Linked DNA regions of Homo sapiens: regions 1, 2 and 4 are each linked to region 3. Evidence: promoter capture Hi-C in human tissues and cell types (Jung and others, 2019). All regions are on one chromosome and are shown on one strand. The core of a region is centred on a gene start or on the middle of the fragment in contact, and the rest is flanking DNA. Distances in the headings are between cores, read along the strand shown. Region 1 overlaps BRD10 (bromodomain containing 10). Region 2 overlaps BRD10 (bromodomain containing 10). Region 3 holds the start of MLANA (melan-A). Region 4 holds the start of RANBP6 (RAN binding protein 6).

The links. The method cuts DNA at HindIII sites, captures the fragments that hold promoters and counts their contacts. A contact is called where the count stands out against the background at its distance.
Region 1: a fragment that was not itself captured here is called in contact with the fragment with the promoter of MLANA in region 3 in 7 of the 25 tissues and cell types used here (dorsolateral prefrontal cortex, lymphoblastoid cells, mesenchymal stem cells and 4 more).
Region 2: a contact is called between a fragment that was not itself captured here and the fragment with the promoter of MLANA in region 3, in 3 of the 25 tissues and cell types used here (mesenchymal stem cells, mesendoderm cells and spleen).
Region 4: a contact is called between the fragment with the promoter of RANBP6 here and the fragment with the promoter of MLANA in region 3, in 1 of the 25 tissues and cell types used here (adrenal gland).

The regions. Positions count from the first base shown.
Region 1 is chr9:5,992,863-5,998,312 of GRCh38, reverse strand. The region is part of intron 1 of BRD10 (bromodomain containing 10); the gene reads left to right. Among named protein-coding and RNA genes, the nearest start is that of MIR4665, 12 kb to the left of the region's middle. The HindIII fragment of the contact is 6,479 bases long and covers 1-5,450 here.
Region 2 is chr9:5,956,852-5,962,496 of GRCh38, reverse strand. All of the region lies in intron 3 of BRD10 (bromodomain containing 10), which reads left to right. Among named protein-coding and RNA genes, the nearest start is that of MIR4665, 48 kb to the left of the region's middle. The HindIII fragment of the contact is 5,201 bases long and covers 818-5,645 here.
Region 3 is chr9:5,886,736-5,892,373 of GRCh38, reverse strand. It overlaps MLANA (melan-A), which reads right to left and starts at 1,485. Exons shown (of 5, transcript NM_005511.2): 1 at 1,438-1,485. It overlaps LOC124902341 (small nucleolar RNA U13), which reads right to left and starts at 2,224; the gene lies at 2,118-2,224. It also overlaps a transcript of BRD10 not described here. The HindIII fragment of the contact is 14,558 bases long and covers 1-5,638 here.
Region 4 is chr9:6,012,653-6,018,697 of GRCh38, reverse strand. RANBP6 (RAN binding protein 6) reads left to right here and starts at 3,074. Exons shown (of 1, transcript NM_012416.4): 1 at 3,074-6,045. The coding sequence starts at 3,091. RefSeq lists an enhancer at 3,196-3,255. The HindIII fragment of the contact is 3,814 bases long and covers 1-3,462 here.

The DNA of each region.
Region 1 (5,450 bases), core at 1,113-3,612, 110 kb before region 3:
TCGTAATAGTTTATTAATTAAAATGTGTACATCCTGGGGCAATAATAGAACAGTACAAGAGAAAATCTCCCTCTTTCACCAGTCTCCAGGTCTCCTACTGTTAAGAGGCCAATCCTACTGTTAATAGTTTCTTTTATCCAATTGAGTGTCCAGTAGCCATCTCAAACTTTAACATGTTCAAAACAGAACTTTTCTTTTTTTTGTTTATTTTTACTAAGTTTAGTCTTAGAGATTTGACCATCCACCAAATTGCTCTAGCCAAAAAAATAGCATTTTTCATTGATTCTTCCTACTTCTAAAGTATATTTTAAATCTTGCCTATTTCTTTCTATTGTTACCACTTAAGTAAGTGTTCTTGACTGTCCTTTACAAAACGTACAGTATGTAACTTATAGTTTGAACTTATTTATTATGTATTGTGTGTGCTTACTTTTTGTGTATCTTCTTTGCTATCCATGTAAGCTCAGAGCAGACAGGAATGTTGTCTGTGTTGTTGCCAAACCTACCCCACTACCTATAAGTGCTTAGTTAATATTGAATGAAGGAATGAATGAATGGATGGATGGATCTGCCTGAAATTTGTTTTGGTGAAGAAGTGAGGTTGAAATCCAGCTTAATTTTTTTCTCAAATACCCAGCCAGTTGTCGCAACATCAACTTTCTCCATTATTTTGAATTACCATGTTTATGATATATTATTGGTGTATTTGGATCTATTTTTCTTTATCATATGTCTCTGGTGTACTTGGATCTAACTTTCTCTGGTGTGCTGTTGATCTAACTATTCATCTTCTGATATTAAACTTTATTACTGTGACTTTAGAATTTATTTTAATATATTTGGTAGAGTGAGTCCTCTGTCAAAAAAAAAACCCATTTTTTCATGTATTTATTTTTCCATTAGATATGTGGCTTTTAAATAAGTATAGCAGAAGCAACATTTGCATCACCCATGTTTTGTTCACTTCGCATAAGAAATATGCAAGAAAACAATAAAAATCACTAGTTTGTGGGGAATAAGAGTGGTATTCTTCTCATTCATGAAGTGAAAGATGAAAAGTTGATAGCATTACTTATTTTCTGTAGACACTGTAATAGCCACTTGCTACATTCTTCTCATTTTAATTATGTCCTTAGCTCTTGCCAAGTCCCTATATCTCTTTGTTAAGACCTGTTATTTCAGGTAGGCAGGCGCTAAGACTTGCTCTAGCTTTCCTGCCTTTCTTCCTTGTGCCATTGTCTGAATCTGAAAGTGTCCTAAATTTACAATCAGCTACTTTAAAGCCTCATCAATGCTTAGGAGATAAATAGAAGAGTTGGCCAGGGACAGGAAGCCAAGGTATTTACCTGCGTACTTTGCAGACTCATTACATTTTTAGCATCTTCTAGGGAACATTAGCATATTGAGACAGTATGAGAGTTAGTGACCTAGAGAGCTTCTGTTCTGCCTGCATTGAGAACTCCTGAGAAGTAGGAATAGCTGTAGCAGTAGTAGTATGTTCAGCAGAGCAGCCCTAACTTACTAAAAATGCTTATCACACTTGTCAAGGTTGATAAGGCACTTTTCAAATACTGTTTGTCTGTAAATAAAAACTTTGCATTTGCCTTTGTGCCTTTCCTAAATTCAGAAAAACAGAATAAATATATTCTAAGCAAAACGATTTTTTAAAAATTAGTTACATGGCTCGGGCATGGTAGCTCATGCCTATAATCCCAGCACTTTGGGAGGCAGAGGTGGGCAGATCACCTGAGGTCGGGAGTTTGAGACCAGCCTGGCCAATGTGGTGAGAGACCCTGTGAAATCCCAACTCTACTAAACATACAAAAATTAGCCAGGCATAGTGGCATATGCTTGTAATCTTAGCTACTTGGGAGACTGAGGCACAAGAATTGCTTGAACCCAGGAGGCAAAGGTTGCAGTGAGCTGAGATTGTGCCATTGCACTCCAGCCTGGGTGACAGAGTAAGACGTTGTCTCAAAAACAACAACAACAACAAAAAAAAAAACCAAGTTACATGGTCTTCAGTTGTTCTTTGGGGCGTTATGTCATTTACCTGTTGCTGTTGCAGAAATGAATAATGGCTTTGGAAGGTTTTGTTTGTATTCTTCTCCTCTGGAGAGGAATAAATACATTTATTTTTATATATGTATTTATTTACTGTTGTTGTTTAATGGCTTTACTTACCACTAAGGGCTCCTAAATCAGTATCTTGAACCCCCCGCCTTTAGTTTTAGTTTCATATTTTTGTCCATAGAACTTTTCCAGTTGGTTGTGTAATTGTTATCTCAAAATGTTAAAAACTGAGTATATTTCTAGCCCAAATCTCCTTCCCAGTTTTCCTGTTTTTCTTTTTGACTTTTCACATTTTTGTCAGTGGTGTTATCATTGTTTCAGCCTGAATGTATCAGTCATCTTTGATGTTTATACTTTTAATTCCATATGTACAAATTGTTAGCGTGTTCTTTGCTAAATCCCTGTGGCTCAGTAAATATTTTGATGAATATATTTGAATAATATGAATGAATATTTTTGTCTTTATTTAGTATTCTCTCTCCACTCTTTCCTATCTATCTAAAACTGTTCTTTCTGCAAAGTCCAATTCAAGTTCTTAACAAAGGGTGACCAGATAGGGTATAGAAAGGTTGACTAAAATAAGAACTGAAAAATACCCTTTGCATTTCCTAACTGGGAGATCTCTGGGAAGAGGGATTTCAGTGGAGTAGCTCCAAGCAGATGCCACATTATAGATTGAGATGTGAATGAAAGATGAATTGGATCAGCAGTTTAGATGTTCCTCAGGGAAACTTGGACTTGTTTATATGCTAAAGCAGCTAACAGACAGAGAAAGAGAGTTTGAAGGCTCAGAAGATAATTAATGAAATACAAATTCTGAAGACCTGTGTAGTGATTCATTTTTCATTAGAGGATTGGAGGCACATTTTTCACTGAAACATAAAGTAAGGATGGGCCTGGATTTAGATAATTTTGGTTTTTGAGAAGCAGGAAGTTAATGGAGCTCTTACTTAAAAACTGCCGTTTTCTCTGAAATAAGTTATGGGCAGTCACCTGCGAGAAAGTGATGGAATGAAGCTTTTGAATAGTGGTAGCATTTGGGCCGGCATGGTGGCTCACGCCTCTAATCCCAGCAATTTGGGATGCCAAGGCGGGTGGATCAACTGAGGTCAGGAGTTCGAGACCAGCCTGACCAACATGGAGAAACCCCGTCTCTATTGAAAATGCTGAAAATTAGCCGGGCGTGGTGGCATATGCCTGTAATCCCAGCTACTCAGGAGGCTGAGGCAGGAGAATTGCTTGAACCAGGGAGGCGGAGGTTGCAGTGAGCCGAGATGGTGCCATTGCACTCCAGCCTGGGCAACAAGAGCGAAACTCTGTCTCAAAAAAAAAAAAAAAGAAAAATGATAGCATTTGAAGTTGCTGTTATGGAGAATGAAAGAGGGAGTTGACCACCTTCAAAGAAGTCATATTAGGTACAGTTGAGCCCAGCTGAGGTTATAGTTAGACAACAGATTATAAGGGGATTATTTTTTCTACCCTGCTCAGTAGGAGAAGTATAGGAGTGAAGGGGCCTTTGGCTGAGATTTAAGAGAGAGGCTACATGCCTGAGACAGAAATATAATTGGTCCAGGGAGATAAGAGAAGAGGTTAGTCATGTATTATGGGTCTCAACTGGTTATCTATGTGAATAGCTAAAAGAAGTTGAATTATGTTACAGCAAATGAGAGTCAGACAAGGGACTGGAGGTCTGAAGGAAGACGAAAAAGAAATTCAGGGGGAATAAGGTAATGACTGGGAAAATAGAAGGTAAAAATCAAGTAGAAAGTAAGTTTAATGGTCTTTAATAAGTGCTTTTTTGTGGGTATGAAGACTACTTCTTTTCCTGAAAACCTTTTTGTGTGTGAGGTAGCTTATAGCTGCAGATAAGAGCAGTGGTCTCCAGACTTTCATGATCTGGCTTCTCAAGCAGCAAACATTTTGAATATATACCTTCGATTATGCATATTTATTTATAAATCATATATGGATACTTTACTATTATGTTTTATATATTATAAAACATAAGCTAAGCTAGATACTTAAAATGAGAGAGTAAATAAGCATATTTAAAAAATTTTTTAACATTATTGATGGTATAAAAAGTTTTTGGTGAGGGCATTGTGATACTTCATTAGTTTTGAGAATCTTGGTTTCGTACTTGGCTGTAGAGCTATTTGAAAGGCTTGTTTTAAGTTAGGTTTATTTTGATACTTGGTTTTAATGGCTGTTGTAGCACAGAGCTTGTAAAGATACATAAATGTAGACAGAAGCTTAGATGAATGATGCTTATCTATCAAATATGCAAATTTTTTTGTCAGAATTCCCCAGTAAAATTTTCTGTCTTTCCTAATTTAATTAGTTGTTCTTGGAAAGTATTTCTAAGGTGTGCTGTGCTGTTAATCTCCATTTGCCCCTGTAAATGCATTTTCTACCCTTGTGCACTGTGCTCTGTGCCCCAGAAGGCTGATTTATAAGGATCAAACTGGTATGCCTTGACCTCTGACTTCTGATTGGGTTCAGCCAATAGGAGGGACTGACAGGAGGACAGAGAGGACAGACATATTTATTCCTACAGCTTCCTTTTTGCTGGGTTGCAAGTTGTCAGAAACTGTGCTCCATCGTTATGGCCTTCTCCTACAGTCACCGCTCTCTGGGTTCCAGTAACTATTCACTCTCCTACCCATATTGGGCTTAGAGTGGTAAAATAGTTCTCTGCTGTGGCTAGCACTGGAGTGCTTCACTATCCCTTCCTATTTTCTCTCAACCTTGCCTGCACATTTGTAAATAGTCCCTTCATTAAATAAACATCACATCTTTTTACATATTATCTATTTCTTTCCAGGACCCTTAGGGCTAAAGTTGCATTTTAATATTTTTAAATGGATAGGTGAACTAAGTGATTGAAACTCTTCATTTAGTTGTTTTTTTTTTTTTTTTTTTTTTTTAATGGAGTCTCACTCTGTCACCCAGGCTGGAGTACAGTGGTGAGATCTCGGCTCACTGCAGCCTCCGTCTCCCAGGTTCCAGTGAGTCTCCTGCCTCAGCCTCCTGAGTAGCTGGGACTACAGACGCATGCCACCGTGCCCAGCTAATTTTTTATTATTAGTAGAGATGGGGTTTCACCATGTTGGCCAGGCTGGTCTCAAACTCCTGACCTCATTTGATCCACCCGCCTTGGCCTCCCAAAGTGCTGGGATTACAGGCATGAGCCACTGCGCCTGGCTTCATTTAGAATATTTTTAAACAGATTAGATAACCATGAGTTTTGAGTGTGCTGATAGAATTTTTATAGGTGACACATGTACATTGTTTTTGATAGCAAAAGAAAAATCACATAATGCAAAAGTGTTCAAACATCTATTTTTAGTAGGGGAGTAGGTGTCAGTTTGTATGTT
Region 2 (5,645 bases), core at 2,169-4,668, 68 kb before region 3:
GTACCAGTTCTTCCTTGTACCTCTGGTAGAATTCGGCTGTGAATCCATCTGGTCCTGGACTCTTTTTGGTTGGTAAACTATTGATTATTGCCACAATTTCAGCTCCTGTTATTGGTCTATTCAGAGATTCAACTTCTTCCTGGTTTAGTCTTGGGAGAGTGTATGTGTCGAGGAATTTATCCATTTCTTCTAGATTTTCTAGTTTATTTGCGTAGAGGTGTTTGTAGTATTCTCTGATGGTAGTTTGTATTTCTGTGGGATCGGTGGTGATATCCCCTTTATCATTTTTTATTGTGTCTATTTGATTCTTCTCTCGTTTTTTCTTTATTAGTCTTGCTAGCGGTCTATCAAAGCAGTGTGTAGAGGGAAATTTATAGCACTAAATGCCCACAAGAGAAAGCAGGAAAGATCCAAAATTGACACCCTAACATCACAATTAAAAGAACTAGAAAAGCAAGAGCAAACATATTCAAAAGCTAGCAGAAGGCAAGAAATAACTAAAATCAGAACAGAACTGAAGGAAATAGAGACACAAAAAACCCTTCAAAAAATCAATGAATCCAGGAGCTGGTTTTTTGAAAGGATCAACAAAATTGATAGACCGGCAGGTGATTTTTAGTAGAAGGCACAAAGACAATTTGGTTGAAAATGATTTGATAATTTTAGCACAGTTTGAGGCAGTTTGGGTAATATTTAAGCATTTTAATCTGCTTTTCAGAATTGGGGTTTCTTTCCTCCTTTTTAAGTTTTGAATTCATTTTTACTCATTTAGGCCTGTTCCTTACTATTGGAAACATTATAGAATAAATAGAAGACAGTGGAAACAATATAATGTCCATTATCTCATGCTTGATCCTATGTTTTTATTCAATCATAGAAAAGAAAAATATGTCCTGGCGATTAGAAATTTTTCCTTGATGACCTGTTTTCAAAATTTAAATGTTTCTGAAAACTTTGTCATTTAAGCAAGACAGGCAAGATTAGCTGTGCATAAATTAAAAATAATTATTTAAGAGTAAAAAAAAACTCAGAGCAAAAAAAATTCAGATCATTTGGTTTTCTTTCATTGTTTTTTCTTATTATAAAAGCAGTACATTTTCTTTAAAGAATATAGAGACAAGCAAAAAGAATAGCCCTTTCCTCATTACCTAGTAAATGTTTATTCTTTTATCACTTGCTTAAGGAAGCCTCCCATTATCTTGTGACTTGTTAAAATTTTCCTTGCTGTTCATGCTTATAGCACCAGACACTTCTCCTTCGTAATACTTATTATAGTTGCGTTTACTTCTAGGTTATTTTGAGGATTGTCTCCTCTCTATTCTATAACATTCTTAGGGACAGAAGGATTATTTCTGGTTTTGCATCCCTGGCACTTTAGCAGATTGATTGATGCATTGTGTGGGAATATACTGAACAAATAAATGAACACATTTAATATGGTTCACCTAGATGTAACTAAAACTAACTCCTTAATATGTATCTTTCAACACTTTTTCAAAGACTATGTATTTTTGAATAGGATTATACTATACATACCATTTTAACAATCTGCTTTTTTTCCCCTGCGTATCAGTATACCATGAACATCTTTGGGCAATAAATAGGTCCCTGTAGCATCATTTTAAATGGCTGTGTAGGATCCTGTTGTATTTTGCAGTTAATTTAACCAGTCTCCTTATTGGACATTTTGGTTGTTTTCAATAATATACTATTATAGATTGTGTAGAGCAAGTAGAGTTGGCGAAAATGAATTAGAAATTCTAAAAATTAGGGGACTTTTTATAAAATCTGAAAAAACACAAAAAAGATTACAGACGCATTAACAGTTACAAAAAGCTTATGGTGTTTTAAGATACTTTCAACCAGTTCTGTTTGGAAAGTTTTCCCCCCTCAAATAGTCATTATTGTCTTTTCTTTTCTTTTTTTTTTTTTTTGAGACAGAGTCTCACTCTTGTTGCCCAGGCTGGAGTGCATTGGCGCATTCTCTGCTCACTGCAACCTCCACCTCCTGGGTTCAAGCAATTCTCCTGCCTCAGCCTCCCAAGTAGCTGGGACTACAGGCATGTGCCACCATGTCCGGCTAATTTTTGTATTTTTAGTAGAGATGAGATTTCACCATGTTGGCCAGGCTGGTCTCGAACTCCTGACCTCAGGTGATCGGCCCACCTCGGCCTCCCAAAGTGCTGGGATTACAGGCGTGAGGCAGCACGCCCGGCCAGTAGTTATTATTTTCACCCAAATCACTTTATGGTAGCACCTCTAAACTGACTAAAATGAATAAGACAAGTGGTCTTATTCTCTTATAGGTGAAAAAACTAAGTTAAAAAGTGGTCAGTGACCTCAAGTGAATAATAGTTAAGTACAGATAAAGACAACACAATAAAAGGTCAAGTAGAGAAAAAATCAATGTGCTGTGCTAGTCTGGGAAGGTTTTACAAGGGATGAAGGACTTTGAAGAATAATGGGAATTGGATAGGTGGAAAATGTTGAATAACACGAGCAAAAGCATAGAGGTATAATTAAGTGAGGTGTCACTGGAAGAAGCACAATTAAAGAAAACTTTTGTGGAAAAGTTGAGGTTTTAGAAGCTGTTCGAATGATAGAAGGGTGTCATTTTTGGGTGATCTTTCTAAGCATGTGGTACTATGTTAAATAATTGAATCAAGATTCCATTGCAAGGAATTGAGCTTGAAATAAGATATATCAGATGTGTAAAAAGTAATGAGCTGCTTTATAGGAAATGACTGAGAAGGTAATGTAATCTACAGTGTTTGATTATTTCCAGGCCCGTATCTGTGAAAAGGTTATTATATAGTTCTGTAGTGATAGCACTAGAGACCCTAACTACATGTGTCTTACGGAGAAAACTTTTAGCATACCAGCTGAAGATTTCAAAATATAAAGAGAGTGAAAGGATTTACTATACTCCATGTCCTTTTATTTTTTCAATCCTTCTACTTTTTGTCTAAAAAACCGAGTACTCATTGAGTGCTTATTGTATGCCAGGCACTGTTCTAAGCCTTTATACATGCTATCTCATTTAATCTTCATGAAGACTTCAAAAAATAAATATTACTATTATTCCCCATTATTACAGATTTTAGAGGTTTTTAAAAATTGAGATGGAGATTTATTTGTCCAAAGTCACACAGCTAGAGCTAGTAAGTGACAGGATTAGGAGAAAGGATCTTGCAAGATAATTAGGATACCATTAAAGAGCTATGAAAAGAAGCTGGCAGGGGTAAGATGAAGGGGTAGATGATAACTATAACGAGACAATTCTAAATCCAGGTAAGGATTGATTATGTGACTTTTCTATCACAATGATAGAAGAAAATTCTATTTTGAGAGAGATGCTGCAATAAGTAGCAGAATTTGGCAACTGATTCAATATTCTAAGTTAAAGGGTAAAAAGAAATGGGTGTTCAGGAGTTACTGAATTATGTGATAGCGTTAAAGAATTACCAGTATGATAAGAAATTTGCTTATAGGTAAGAAGAATAAAAGGAAAATAAACTGTTTTGTTAAGGTCAAATTGCTTACTTGAGATAGAACACTCCAGAAACTCCTAGAATATAGTTAGCTCAAGACATGCACATTTAGTAAATAAAAGACAAGTTTAGGCTCTAGTTCTGTGACTTTACATCCCAGGCACTTTGCAAATTCACTGTTTAATAATACAAATACCCTTGAGTTTTTACTTGCAACAATGATTAATATCTTAGTATTCATTTATTTATTAAGGTTCCTAAGGCGAAAGTACAGAGGGAGGAGTGAATGTGTTGGGATAATTTTAAAACATGGAAAGGCTAAATCTAGGAAAGCATTGAAGTACCTTTTTTTTTCTGTTCTTTTTCTTCCTCCTATCCCTCCCTGAGAGACAGGATCTCGCTATGTTGCCCACCTGGCCTCGAACTCCGGGGCGCAAGCCATCCTCTCACCTCCGCCTCCCAAGTAGCTGGGACCACAGGCGAGCTGGGATCACAGGCATGCACCACCACACTTGGCTTAAAGTGGAAGTCTGAGTATGAGTAGCCCAGAGGTCTGAGGAGTGAAGACAGGAAAACCAGGTGAAGGAGAAGGGTAAAGAATGAGGAATAAGAAACTGAGAAAGGGGAACTGAAAGGGGGATGATAATCACCTTCTTATGTAAAGAAATATGCCATTTCTTTTATAAAAGGCATATTTCCAGATTCTAGAAAACTAGAGTTTTATTCCTCAGTTACAGTATAAAATATATCTTTAGTTATAATTTTCCCTCTCAGGTTGGGCATTCTTTTCTTAAGTTGTTCTAAGCATAGTGTTTTAGAAAGCTTCATTAGGGTATACTTTTGTAACATTAATTACTAAGGTTTATTATTAAGGTTTATTAATGTTTCCTTATGCATTTTCCAGGTACAGGCTGACACTTTCTGTTTTAGGCTCAAGAGTGGTATTGAAATTCTGTGTATGTTTTAATTTGACTTCTGATTTCAGCATAATTATAGGTTTGAGAATTTTATTCTATTTTATATGACCAAGTAACTTAGGGCAGTGGAAGTAAAAGGCCTGGGATATGATCAAGTTGAGTGATAAGGGAAGGGAAGCCCACTGGTAGTATGTAACTTGCCCTGTATATATTTTGTCCTGAAGCAAAAACAGGTTACCAAATAAAGGCATGATTTTGTAGTATCTCATGCTCGATTTTTAAAATAATATTTAATTTTTTTGAAGTGCTGATGTTTTTACTGAAGAATACAGGAAAATTTATACTGAAATTGTTTTTTTCAGGATATATACTGAAGGTATTAAAAAATAGTAAATGTACAAATCATCCAACCCTAATAAAAAGGAATGCTCTGAACCAAACAGAAGCAGATTACATCCCTTTCAAAAATTTGAAAGAATGCAGTATTTTACCATAAAAAGAGTACAGCTTTGAAGTGAGACAGACCTAATTTCACATGTATGCTCCTAGTGCATATTAGCTACAGCTCCTCCATCAGTTTCTTTACCTGTTTATAGCCTGTTTCTTTATCTGTGATAAGTGAGGTAATACCTACTTGGCTGTATTGTTAAGATTAATTAGAATAACAAATGCGCAGTATGTCACTTGGAGCTTGGCACATGGTAGGAATCAATAAATGGTAACTTAAGATATTTGTGCAGTAGAATTACATAATGGAAGGAGCTTAGACTTTGTAGTTAGAATCCCTGACTGTGGTGCTTACTTACTGTGTGACACATGAGTGAGTTAATTAATCTTTTTGATCTTCAGTTATCCAGTATTACAGTAGAGTTATTACCTACCTGGGAGGGTTATATTGAGAAATAAATAAGTTAATTTATACAGACCACTTTACTAAGTATCTGACACACAGCAGGTTCTCAATAAATGTTAATCTTCTTACTACCACTACTAGGTCATGTTGAAACTCTTTGGTGAATTGTTTAAATTATTTAAAATCGTTGTCAGTGTTTTCTTCACTATAAAGTAGACTTAAATGGACCCTCAGAATTGTAAACAGTTACCTGCATCCCTTTTCCTACCCCCTAGACTGTTGGTGACATTTCTGAAAAAAGTAGGATTCTTGTATTTAGGGATCACTTCTTAGAACTTATGTGTGCTAAATGCTGTAAATACAGAGTGAATAATGTGATTTCTG
Region 3 (5,638 bases), core at 236-2,735:
GCATCCTCACTAGGTGACCAATATCCATAGCCAGGACCCTTTGGTTTCTCTCTGTGAGGGGATTTGCACCTGCTTCTTTCATTCATATCAAGGGCTTTAGCAATAGCTCAGGTTTCTAACCCCTCCTACTAACTGAAAATTAAGTTCAAAGAAGAAACTACAAACAAAAGCAAAAAAGACTTGCAAGTTGAGTTATTATTTGGTGAAAAAATATTCCTCATTTGCCTTCAATTTGACTCTGCACCATAAACTTCTAGAGAAACAAACAAAATGCATTTTCACTGATTCTCCACCTTCCCTGGCCCAGGGCTGTGGCTAACAAAATTAGAGGAGTTATTTTTCTCCAAAGTTATTGTTGGATATCAATCCCACAGACAAACAGAGGCTATGATACATAACGTGTGTTTCCCAGAGCACCCGTTGCCTGTGCCTCGCGAGGGTGCATGAGGTTGAGCACTGAGCACAACATCTTCCAGCCCAGCTTTTCAGCAAAGGAAACCACCCCACACAGGGGCTTCAGCCTGTCCCCAGGCACTCCACCCAAAACAAGCCGAGGAAGCCCAGGACCTGACTTTATCTAACAATGTGTTTCCCTTCCTACTTAAGTCAATTTCTGCTTCTCTCTGGTTCAAGTCCCTTGGCTAGGATTCTTTTTTTTTCTAACTATAACACATACAAATGAACAACAAAAAATATCCATAAACTGCAGTGGCCGTAATTCAAGTACGCTCATTAAAAACCAATAATGGAAGCTCCTTTCCTTATTATTGTGTATTTTTCTGCTCTCTTACTGTCCTCATGAATTTCAAAGGTGTGATCCCCATAGAATTATATTAATGAGCCCCAGTTTAAAACAACAGGGAGAGGTGAGACAGAAGAGTGGGGATTTCGACACATGACCCCTTTCCACTGGGACATTTTATGTGTAATTTGCCCTTCCCAGTTGTAAAAAAGAAATGAAAGTCAAACTCACCAGTCCTCTCAAGTGAATAATATAGGACTGAACCCTGTGTTCAAAATGACAGAATGGAATCTTAATTCTTCATTAAATTGTTTTAATACATCCCATACCTCAAACTCAGAGCCTTGGCAAATGGTGCAGCAACAGCAAATGCGCCTCTTACTACTCAGACCAGGAGAAGTGGTTCTTTAAGTGACAGGAGAACACATCTACCTCAGGGAGGCTGCTTCTCCCCAGCAAGATGCCATCCTGAATAATTGCTTTTCTTCTTGGTAGTGTTGGAGGACTGAGAGAGGATTCAGGAGGAGGCTTTGTGAGCCCTCTGAGGTTGGAGACTGACAAACGTTGCGGAGAAATTCTGTTGATGTCACACATCAGCGGGGCAATGAGGGTAGGCAGAGGACTTAGCCAGAATTTCCCAAATCCTATTCTGGGAGAAGAGGACTATGATTATGGCGAGAAGGCAACGCTCTTACCTTCCTTAATGAGAGTCCTCTGTCTGCTGGCTGGCCGCGTGTATGAAGACTGCTTCTCTGGCTCTTAATCGTTTTGACTTATTTTTTTTCCTGGTTTTGAGTCCCATGATAGTCACGGGTTTAGATTTCTGACGGGGTCGTCTGTAATTGCTAAATTGGCATGAAAGAAACCAACTTTATTCCTTCCTTCAAAAAGTCACAGCTGACTGTGGCCTCTGTTTTCCCCAGTCCCAGTGCTCTATCCTAGGGAAGCCATTTATTTTAAATGTTGGTCCCTCCTCCATAGGATTGCCATGTCACATAAAATATGACATGAGCCTAGTTATAATGATTTAAAATTCATGGTCCGACACCACAATTACTTTTGCACCAACCTAATTGATGTCTAAGTAGGTCATATTCTACCTGCAAAAAGAAAATTTCATCTATCCCTTTCACATAGATGGAAACCCACTATCTCCAGTGGACAGTTAACACCAAAGGCATCACAGAGAACTCATGGAGCTCAGCTGAGGAGGATGCCCAGTTAAATTTGAACTTCAGATAAACAATGAACAGTTTCTTAATACAACTATGTCCCATACAATATTTTTAGGATAAATATGTCCACATATTCTATGGGACATATACACTAAAAGAGTTATTTTTTGTTTATCTGAAATCCACATTTGTTTTTCTCATGTCAGATAGGTAAGGTGCCCATGTCATTGTAACAAGGTTTGAGGGAGGCATATCTCACACGTGAACATGGAAACCCAATCATCACGCTTATGACCCACAAAAGGATCTGAAATCCAAACTAAACTGGGTTCCCTATTCCCTCCCTCATCTCCATCTCAAAGGGTTGAAGAGTCTTTAGGCACAGGTCTGGAGAGCATCTAGTCCCAGACTCTCATAATCAAGAAAAGGAAATAGAAAAATCCCTGAAACCTCCTCAGCTGAGCTCCATGAGTTCTCTGTGATGCCTTTGGTGTTAACTGTCCACTGGAGATAGTGGGTTTCCATCTATGTGAAAGGGATAGATGAAATTTTCTTTTTGCAGGTAGAATATGACCTACTTAGACATCAATTAGGTTGGTGCAAAAGTAATTGCGGTGTCGGACCATGAATTTTAAATCATTATAACTAGGCTCAAACACATTTTTTTTTTCTGAGATGGAGACTCACTCTGTCGCCCAGGCTGGAGTGCAGTGGCAGGATCTCAGCTCACTACAACCTCTGCCTCCCAGGTTCAAGCAATTCTCCTGCCTCAGCCTCCTGAGTAGCTGGGACTACAGGTGCACGCCACCACACCTGGCAAATTTTTGTATTTTTAGTAGAGACAGGGTTTCACCATGTTGGCCAGGATGGTCTCGATCTCCTGACCTCATGATCCACCTGCCTCAGCCTCCCAAAGTGCTGGGATTACAGGCATGAGCCACCGCGCCCAGCCTCAAACACATCTTTATTAATCAAAATAGGAACCATTGCAATGAAGACATTTTTGCCAATGAAAAATAAGTTTGTTTATTCCTGTAGCATACACATTCATGCTTCAAGATTCGATGAACTCTTGGAAAGCATTTTCTGCATCCTGCTGGTTGTGGAAGGATTTTCCCTGCAAAAAGTTGTTAAGATGATTGAAGAAGTGGTAGTCGGTTGATGAGAGGTCAGGTGAATATGGCAGATGAGGCAAAAGTTCGTAGCCCAATTTATTCCAACTTTTGAAGCATTGGTTGTGTGACATGTGGTTAGGTGCTGTCATGGACAATTGGGCTTTTTCTGTTGATTAATGCCAGCTGCAGGTGTTGTACTATTCGGTGCAACTCATTGATTTGCTGAGCATACTTCTCAGATATAATGGTTTCACCGGGATTCAGAAAGATGTAGTGGATCAGACCAGCAGAGACCACCAAACAGTGACCATGACCTTTTTTCGGTGCAAGTTTGGCTTTGGGAAGTGCTTTGGAGCTTCTTCTCAGACCAGCCACTGAGCTGGTCATTGCCAGTTATCATATAAAATCCACTTTTCATTGTACATCACAACTCAATTGAGAAATTCTTCCTTGTTGTTGTGTAGAATAAGATAAGACAACATTTCAAAAAGACCGTTTTTTAAATTTTCACTCAGCTCATGAAGCAACCACTAAATGAGCTTTTTCACATTTCCAATTTGCTTCAAATGCTGAACAACTGTAGAATGATCGACGTTGAGTTCTTCGGCAATTTCTAGTGTAGTTGAAAGAGGATCAGCTTCGATGATTGTTCTCAACTGGTCGTTGTCAACTTCCAGTGGCCAGCTCCTCATCTTCCAGGCTCTCATCTCCTTTGCAAAACTTCTTGAACCACCACTGCCCTGTACATTCGTTAGCAGTTCCAGGGCCAAATGCATTGTCGATGTTGCAAATTGTCTCTGCTGCTTTATAACTCATTTTGAACTCGAATAAGAAAATCACTTGAATTTGCTTTTTGTCCAACATTTCCATAGTCTAAAATAAACATACAACAAAGAACAAGTGATGTCTTTAGCAAAAATACATAAAGTGAGAAATGCCCATTAAAATGATGTATAACATAACCACATTTATTTAAGAATGTATTTAATATCAAACAGCAAAGTCCGACAGTGCAAAAATCACAGTTACTTTTGCACTCACCTAATAATTGACCCCAGAGCTGATTCTACTTAACATCATGATCTATCTTGGACAGCCCAGAAGCATTTCAGTGGGACACAACAGTCACCTTTGCTCACCAGCTCTCCATAGCCATTGTGAACAAACAAAACAAAGAAAAAAAACCCCACCGGAATATGACAGTCCTAGCAGCTCAAGACTTAGATTAAATGACCTCTAAGGTCCCCTTTCCCATAATACCTGAGGACCCATTCCTTTCAGATCCTGTGATTTTTCTGGTTTCCATCGTGAGCTATGGACAAAGGCTGTCCTGTGTAAGGGCAGTACCAACCCACCAGATACTGGATAGTCACCACTGAAAATGGTAAGGGAGAAAGAAAACAAAGAAGGGTTGATCTTTATTAGGCAAGCCAGGGAGAGCCTATCTGTAAAGGAGGGAAAATTTAAACTGAGACCTAAATGGTAAGAAGCAGTCAGCCATGAAAAGATGGAGAGAGAGCATTTCAGAAAGAACAACCAGTTGGAGACCTTGAGGCAGAACAATAGACCATGACTTAGACTGAGTTCCCAGAGTGGAGGCTATCTCAGGGAATTTTGTGCAAAAATTGGGAAGGATATAAGCCCCTTGTGTCAATAGATTTGGAGAGAGCAACTCCAACCTGAATTTCAGGGTTATGCCTGAAAATCCCAGAAAGTCCTGGTGGTGAGTACTAGTCTACAAAGAGGGATGCAGTTCTGAGCTGAAAAGTCCATTGCACTGAGCTGGGTTCTATAATAGCCTGGCCCATATATGACTGGTGGCAAGACCACAGAGGAGGGAGTACTGACCTGGATCTCAGGGCAAGGTGAAGTTCCCAGGTCTCATTCAAGTTCTCTGGTGATGTGAGCTGACTTGGGGATTGAGTGTGCCCTGGCATTCTTCCAGGGTGGAGACAACAGGCAGCTGGCATCATCCCCTCCCCCAGAGGATGCTACAGGACCAGACTCAGCATGCTGGGCACACAATGGCCAGTCTGGGAACATGCTCTCCAGCTTGTTTGAGATATTTTTTGGTGGGTGGGTTGGGGGACAGTCTTGTTCTGTTGCCCAGGCAGGAATGCAGTGGTGTGATCTCGGGTCACTGCAACCTCCACCTCCTGGGTTCAAGCGATTCTCCTGCCTCAGCCTCCTGAGTAGCTGGGACCACAGGTATGCACCACCATGCCCAGCTAGTTTTTGTATTTTTAGTAGAGACAGGATTTTGCTATTTTGGCCAGGCTGGTCTCGAACTCCTGACCTCTAGTGGTCCGCCCACCTCTGCCTCCCAAAGTGCTGGGATTACAGACGCGACCCACTGCACCTGGCCCTTGTTTGTTCTTTGAGCTCAACGAGGGAGACCTGACCAGCTCTTTCACAGGCATCCCTTTGGGTCTTTGAGTGGTTTGCAGCTTCTGAGGTGCCTGGCCCTTTCAGGGCTATGTGAACAGGATAAGCTGGCGATCGCTTCTTCAAATAGGGGTTCCCTGGGCACCTCAACTTGAAAAACCTACCACATCCTGTTTCCCGGAAGCCCCCTAGAAGTTCCCTCTAACTAGGCTCTTAGTCTC
Region 4 (6,045 bases), core at 1,825-4,324, 120 kb before region 3:
TTTTTTTCAATGTCTTTCATATGCTAGTGGATATAGTATTAAGTAATTAATTAATTATTATTAACATTTCCTGAAACGGCAAATGCAAAGTCCCTCCAGTTAGACTTTTTGAAGGAACAGTAAGAAAACCAATGAATGGGCCAGGTGTGGTGGCTCATGCCTGTAATCCTAGTACTTTAGGAGGCTGAGGCAGGTGGATCACTTGAGGTCAGAAGTTTGAGACCGGCCTGGCCAACATGATGAAACCCTGTGTCTACTAAAAATATAAAAATTAGCTGGGTGTGGTGGTGCATGCCTGTAATCCCAGCTACTCAGGAGGCTGAGGCAGGAGAATTGCTTGAACCCAGGAGGCAGAGGTTGCAGTGAGCTGAGATCGTGCCATTGCCCTCCAGCCTAGGTGACAGAGCGAGACTCCATCTAAAAAAAAAAAAAAAACAAAGAAAGAAAGAAAACCAATGAATGCACAACTGTAGTCATAATCTTAGAACCAGAATTGATCTTATCAGCGATTCTCAAATGTTGGTATTTATATAAAAACCCAATGTGCTGGTTGAAATTGTACATTCTTAGTCCTCAGTCCCCCCAGAATTCTGGGTTAATAGGAACTTGGGCCCTAACATCTATATTTTAAAATAGGTATCCCAAGCAATTCTAATGCAGTTGGTTTTCAGTCTACAGAATGAGAAATTCTATTTTAGAAAATAGCTCTGTTTCATATTACAGTGTCTTTTTTATGAGACAGAGTCTTGCTGTGTCGCCAGGCTGGAGTGCAGTGATGCAATCTCGGCTCACTGCAACCTCTGCCTCCCAGGTTCAAGCGATTCTCCTGCCTCAGCCTCCCGAGTAGCTGGGACTACAAGCATGTGCCACCACGCCCAGCTAATTTTGGTACTTTTAGTAGAGACGGGGTTTCACCGTGTTGGCCAGAATGGTTTTGATCTCTTGATCTCGTGATCTGCCTGCCTCAGCCTCCCAAAGTGCTGGGATTACAGGTGTGAGCCACCATGCTCGGCTACAATGTAATTTATGAGACTACCTACTTTGTCTATCATCTGGTTAATGTAAAAGCTACGACTTTCTAATTTTTGTGGGTATATGCGGCAGCACTTTACAAAAACAAAATTAAGGCTGCTTGGAAAAGTTTAAGACAGAATTTGCAGTAAGTGAAGCCTCTGATCATGCTGCAAAACCAAGAGTAGTTAATGGGGAAGCAATATGGTGAAAAGAGCATCAGTGTCACTTTCAGAAGAGGTAGAATTGAGACTCAGGTGTGTCATCCTAGGCAAATCCTGTAACTTCCCTTAGTTTCCACTTCTCACCTAAATTTAGTATTATATCTATCCTAGCAATCTCTCAATTCTGTATAAGGGTCAAAATGAGTGTGGCAAGTGCTAATACAAAAGTAAGACCTAATCATTGTTATAGGAATGAAACTTGTTTTTGATTGACACACCTGCCTGAATTAAAGAAACAAACTGGCCAGGCGCGGTTGCTTACACCTGTAATCCTAGTACTGTGGGAGGCCGAGGCGGGTGATCTCTCACGAGGTCAACAGATCGAGACCATCCTGACCAAACATAGTGAAACCCCGTCTCTACTAAAATACAAAAATTAGCTGGGCGTGGTGGCATGCGCCCATAGTCCCAGCTACTCAGGAGGCTGAAGCAGGAGAATTGCTTGAACCCAGGAGGCAGAGGTTGCAGTGAGTTGAGATCGCACCACTGCACTCCAGCCTGGCGACAGAGCGAGACTCCATCTCACAAAAAAAAAAAAAAAAAAAAGAAACAAATTTAGTTTCATCAACATTTGTTTCTTGGAATAACCTCAGCAGCTTCCCACTAATGGTTAGTTAGGATTCTAGTTAACCGCATCCCTTCATATTTCAGTTTAGACAAGATGCAAGGAAAATCTTGAGTAACTTGTCCTAGGATACAAAATTAATTTAGTGACAAGGCCAGGATGCAAGTCTGTCTTCTGATTATTAGTTCAGATCACTTTCTACCATACTTTACTCAGTTGTCTTTCCCATTCTTTATTATAACCAACAGGCCAGGTGATTCTGACACACACCAGATTTTGAGCTACCACTCTACTGCATTAGATGTGGTAGTGGGGAAGTAATTATTATTTTATTATCACACTTATTATTTTATAAAGCTTTATTGTAGTATTATTTATATGCCATACAATTCACCAATTTAAATTTAACAACTCAATGGTTTTTAGTATAATCACAGAATTGTGCAACCATCACAATTAATTTTAGAACATTTCATCACTCAGAAAGAAACACCCTATTTGATAGCAGTCATTCTCTATCCTCCCCTCCCCCCAACCTCTGGCAACCACTAATTTCTGTTATACAATTTGCCTGTTTGGTACCTTTCATACAAATGGAATCATACAATATGTGGTTGTGACTGGTTTCTTTCACTTGGCATGTTTTCAAGATAGACTTATTGTTTTAAAATTATCAAAGTAACAATATAGTTTAGAAATAAAAGAAAAAAATCACTCATAATCTGACCAGAAGCAGTGGCTCACACCTGTATTCCCAGTACTTCGGGAGGCCGAGGCGGGCAGATCACCTGAGCCCAGGAGTTCGAGACCAGCCTGGGCAACATGGCGAAACCCTGTCTCTATAAAAAACACAATTAGCCGGGCGTGGTGGCGCGCGCCTGTGGTCCCAGCTACTGGGGGAACTGAGGCGGGGAGGATCGCTTGAGCCCAGGAGGTTGAGGCTGCAGTGAGCAGGGATCGCGCCGCTATACTCCAGCCTAGGTGACACAGCCAGACCTTGTATCCAAAAAAAAAAAAAGTCATGATCCCATTCTAATCAATGCTTTTCTTCTCTCGCCTGCAAGTGCACGTTTATCTTATTGAAAAACAAATGGAGGATGCCATTGGCCTCCACACGGCTCTCACCTCTCTCCAAAACCTAGCTCGCAGCCTGCCAGAGCGCAGCTAGAGTTTCTGGGCAGAGGAGGGAGAAGCACCCCGCCCATCCCCGCCGGCGCCTCGCCTACGTCACTGCTTCGAGCCGCAGACCCCCTCCCTCCTTCCCGGTCGCGGTAGCTTTGACAGAGCGCAATGGCGGCAACCGCGTCTGCAGGGGTGCCGGCGACCGTGTCAGAAAAGCAAGAGTTTTACCAGCTTCTGAAGAACCTGATCAATCCAAGCTGTATGGTGCGGAGGCAAGCAGAGGAAATCTATGAAAATATCCCAGGTCTGTGTAAGACTACCTTCCTCTTAGATGCCGTCAGAAATAGAAGAGCAGGTTATGAGGTGAGACAAATGGCTGCCGCACTGCTACGACGGCTTTTGTCCTCTGGGTTTGAGGAGGTTTATCCAAATCTGCCTGCTGATGTTCAGAGAGATGTCAAGATTGAACTGATTCTGGCTGTTAAGTTAGAAACACATGCTAGCATGAGGAAAAAACTTTGTGATATTTTTGCAGTGCTGGCCAGGAATTTGATAGATGAGGATGGCACTAACCACTGGCCGGAAGGTCTGAAGTTTCTTATTGATTCAATCTACTCCAAAAATGTGGTTCTATGGGAAGTTGCACTTCACGTTTTCTGGCACTTTCCTGGGATTTTTGGGACCCAAGAGCGGCATGATTTGGATATCATCAAACGGTTGTTGGACCAGTGTATTCAAGATCAAGAACATCCAGCAATCAGGACATTATCCGCTAGAGCTGCAGCTGCATTTGTACTTGCTAATGAGAATAATATTGCTCTTTTCAAAGACTTTGCAGACTTGCTTCCTGGAATCTTACAGGCTGTGAATGACTCATGCTACCAGGATGATGATTCAGTGCTAGAATCCCTTGTTGAGATTGCAGATACCGTACCTAAGTACTTGGGTCCTTATTTAGAAGATACTCTACAGTTGAGTTTGAAGTTATGTGGAGACTCTAGGCTTAGTAATCTGCAGCGCCAGCTGGCCCTCGAAGTTATAGTGACCTTGTCTGAAACTGCCACTCCGATGTTGAAAAAACATACAAATATTATTGCACAGGCAGTTCCTCATATATTAGCAATGATGGTTGATCTACAAGATGATGAGGACTGGGTAAATGCTGATGAAATGGAAGAAGATGATTTTGACAGCAATGCAGTTGCTGCGGAGAGTGCACTAGACAGACTGGCTTGTGGGCTTGGTGGAAAAGTTGTTTTACCAATGACCAAGGAGCATATCATGCAGATGCTTCAGAGCCCTGACTGGAAGTATCGACATGCTGGATTAATGGCCTTATCTGCCATTGGAGAAGGATGCCATCAACAAATGGAATCAATTCTAGATGAAACAGTTAACTCCGTTTTGCTTTTTCTTCAGGATCCTCATCCAAGGGTGAGGGCTGCAGCCTGTACTACACTTGGACAGATGGCTACAGATTTTGCACCTAATTTCCAAAAGAAATTTCATGAAACAGTGATTGCAGCTCTGTTACGTACCATGGAAAATCAAGGTAATCAGCGTGTGCAATCACATGCAGCTTCTGCTCTTATTATTTTTATTGAAGACTGCCCTAAATCATTGCTAGTTCTATATGTGGATAGTATGGTGAAAAATCTACATTCCGTCTTGGTGATTAAACTTCAAGAGTTGATTCGGAATGGAACTAAGTTGGCTTTGGAACAACTTGTGACAACCATTGCATCAGTTGCAGATACAATAGAAGAAAAATTTGTCCCATATTATGATATATTCATGCCCTCACTAAAGCACATTGTTGAGCTTGCTGTTCAGAAGGAACTCAAGCTTCTGAGAGGAAAAACTATCGAGTGCATTAGCCATATTGGTCTTGCTGTTGGGAAGGAAAAATTTATGCAAGATGCATCAAATGTGATGCAGCTGTTGTTGAAGACACAATCAGACTTAAATAATATGGAAGATGATGACCCTCAGACCTCTTACATGGTTTCAGCATGGGCTAGAATGTGTAAAATTCTTGGAAAAGATTTTCAACAGTACCTTCCACTGGTTATCGAGCCTCTTATTAAGACTGCTTCAGCTAAACCTGATGTTGCTCTCTTAGACACACAGGATGTGGAAAATATGAGTGACGATGATGGCTGGCAATTTGTAAATCTTGGAGACCAGCAGAGTTTTGGAATTAAAACTTCAGGACTTGAAGCAAAAGCAACTGCTTGCCAAATGTTGGTTTACTATGCTAAGGAGTTAAGGGAAGGGTTTGTGGAATATACAGAACAAGTTGTGAAGCTGATGGTTCCTTTACTGAAATTTTATTTCCATGACAATGTTCGAGTGGCAGCAGCAGAGTCCATGCCTTTTCTCCTGGAATGTGCAAGAATTCGTGGCCCAGAGTATCTTGCACAGATGTGGCAATTCATATGTGACCCCTTAATCAAGGCTATTGGTACTGAACCAGATACAGATGTGCTCTCAGAAATAATGAATTCTTTTGCAAAGTCCATTGAAGTTATGGGAGATGGTTGCCTTAATGATGAACACTTGGAAGAACTGGGAGGAATACTGAAAGCAAAACTTGAAGGGCACTTTAAAAACCAAGAATTGAGACAGGTGAAAAGACAGGAAGAAAACTATGATCAACAGGTTGAGATGTCTCTGCAAGATGAGGATGAATGTGATGTTTATATTCTGACCAAAGTATCAGATATTTTGCACTCATTATTTAGTACTTATAAGGAAAAGATTTTACCATGGTTTGAACAACTACTTCCATTAATTGTAAATCTAATTTGTTCAAGTAGGCCATGGCCAGACAGACAGTGGGGATTGTGCATATTTGATGACATCATAGAGCACTGCAGTCCAACTTCATTTAAATATGTAGAATATTTTCGGTGGCCAATGCTACTAAATATGCGAGATAACAACCCTGAAGTCAGGCAAGCTGCTGCTTATGGCCTGGGTGTCATGGCACAGTTTGGTGGAGATGATTATCGTTCTTTATGTTCAGAAGCTGTTCCACTTCTGGTAAAAGTTATTAAGTGTGCAAATTCCAAAACCAAAAAAAATGTCATTGCTACAGAGAACTGTATCTCAGCAATAGGG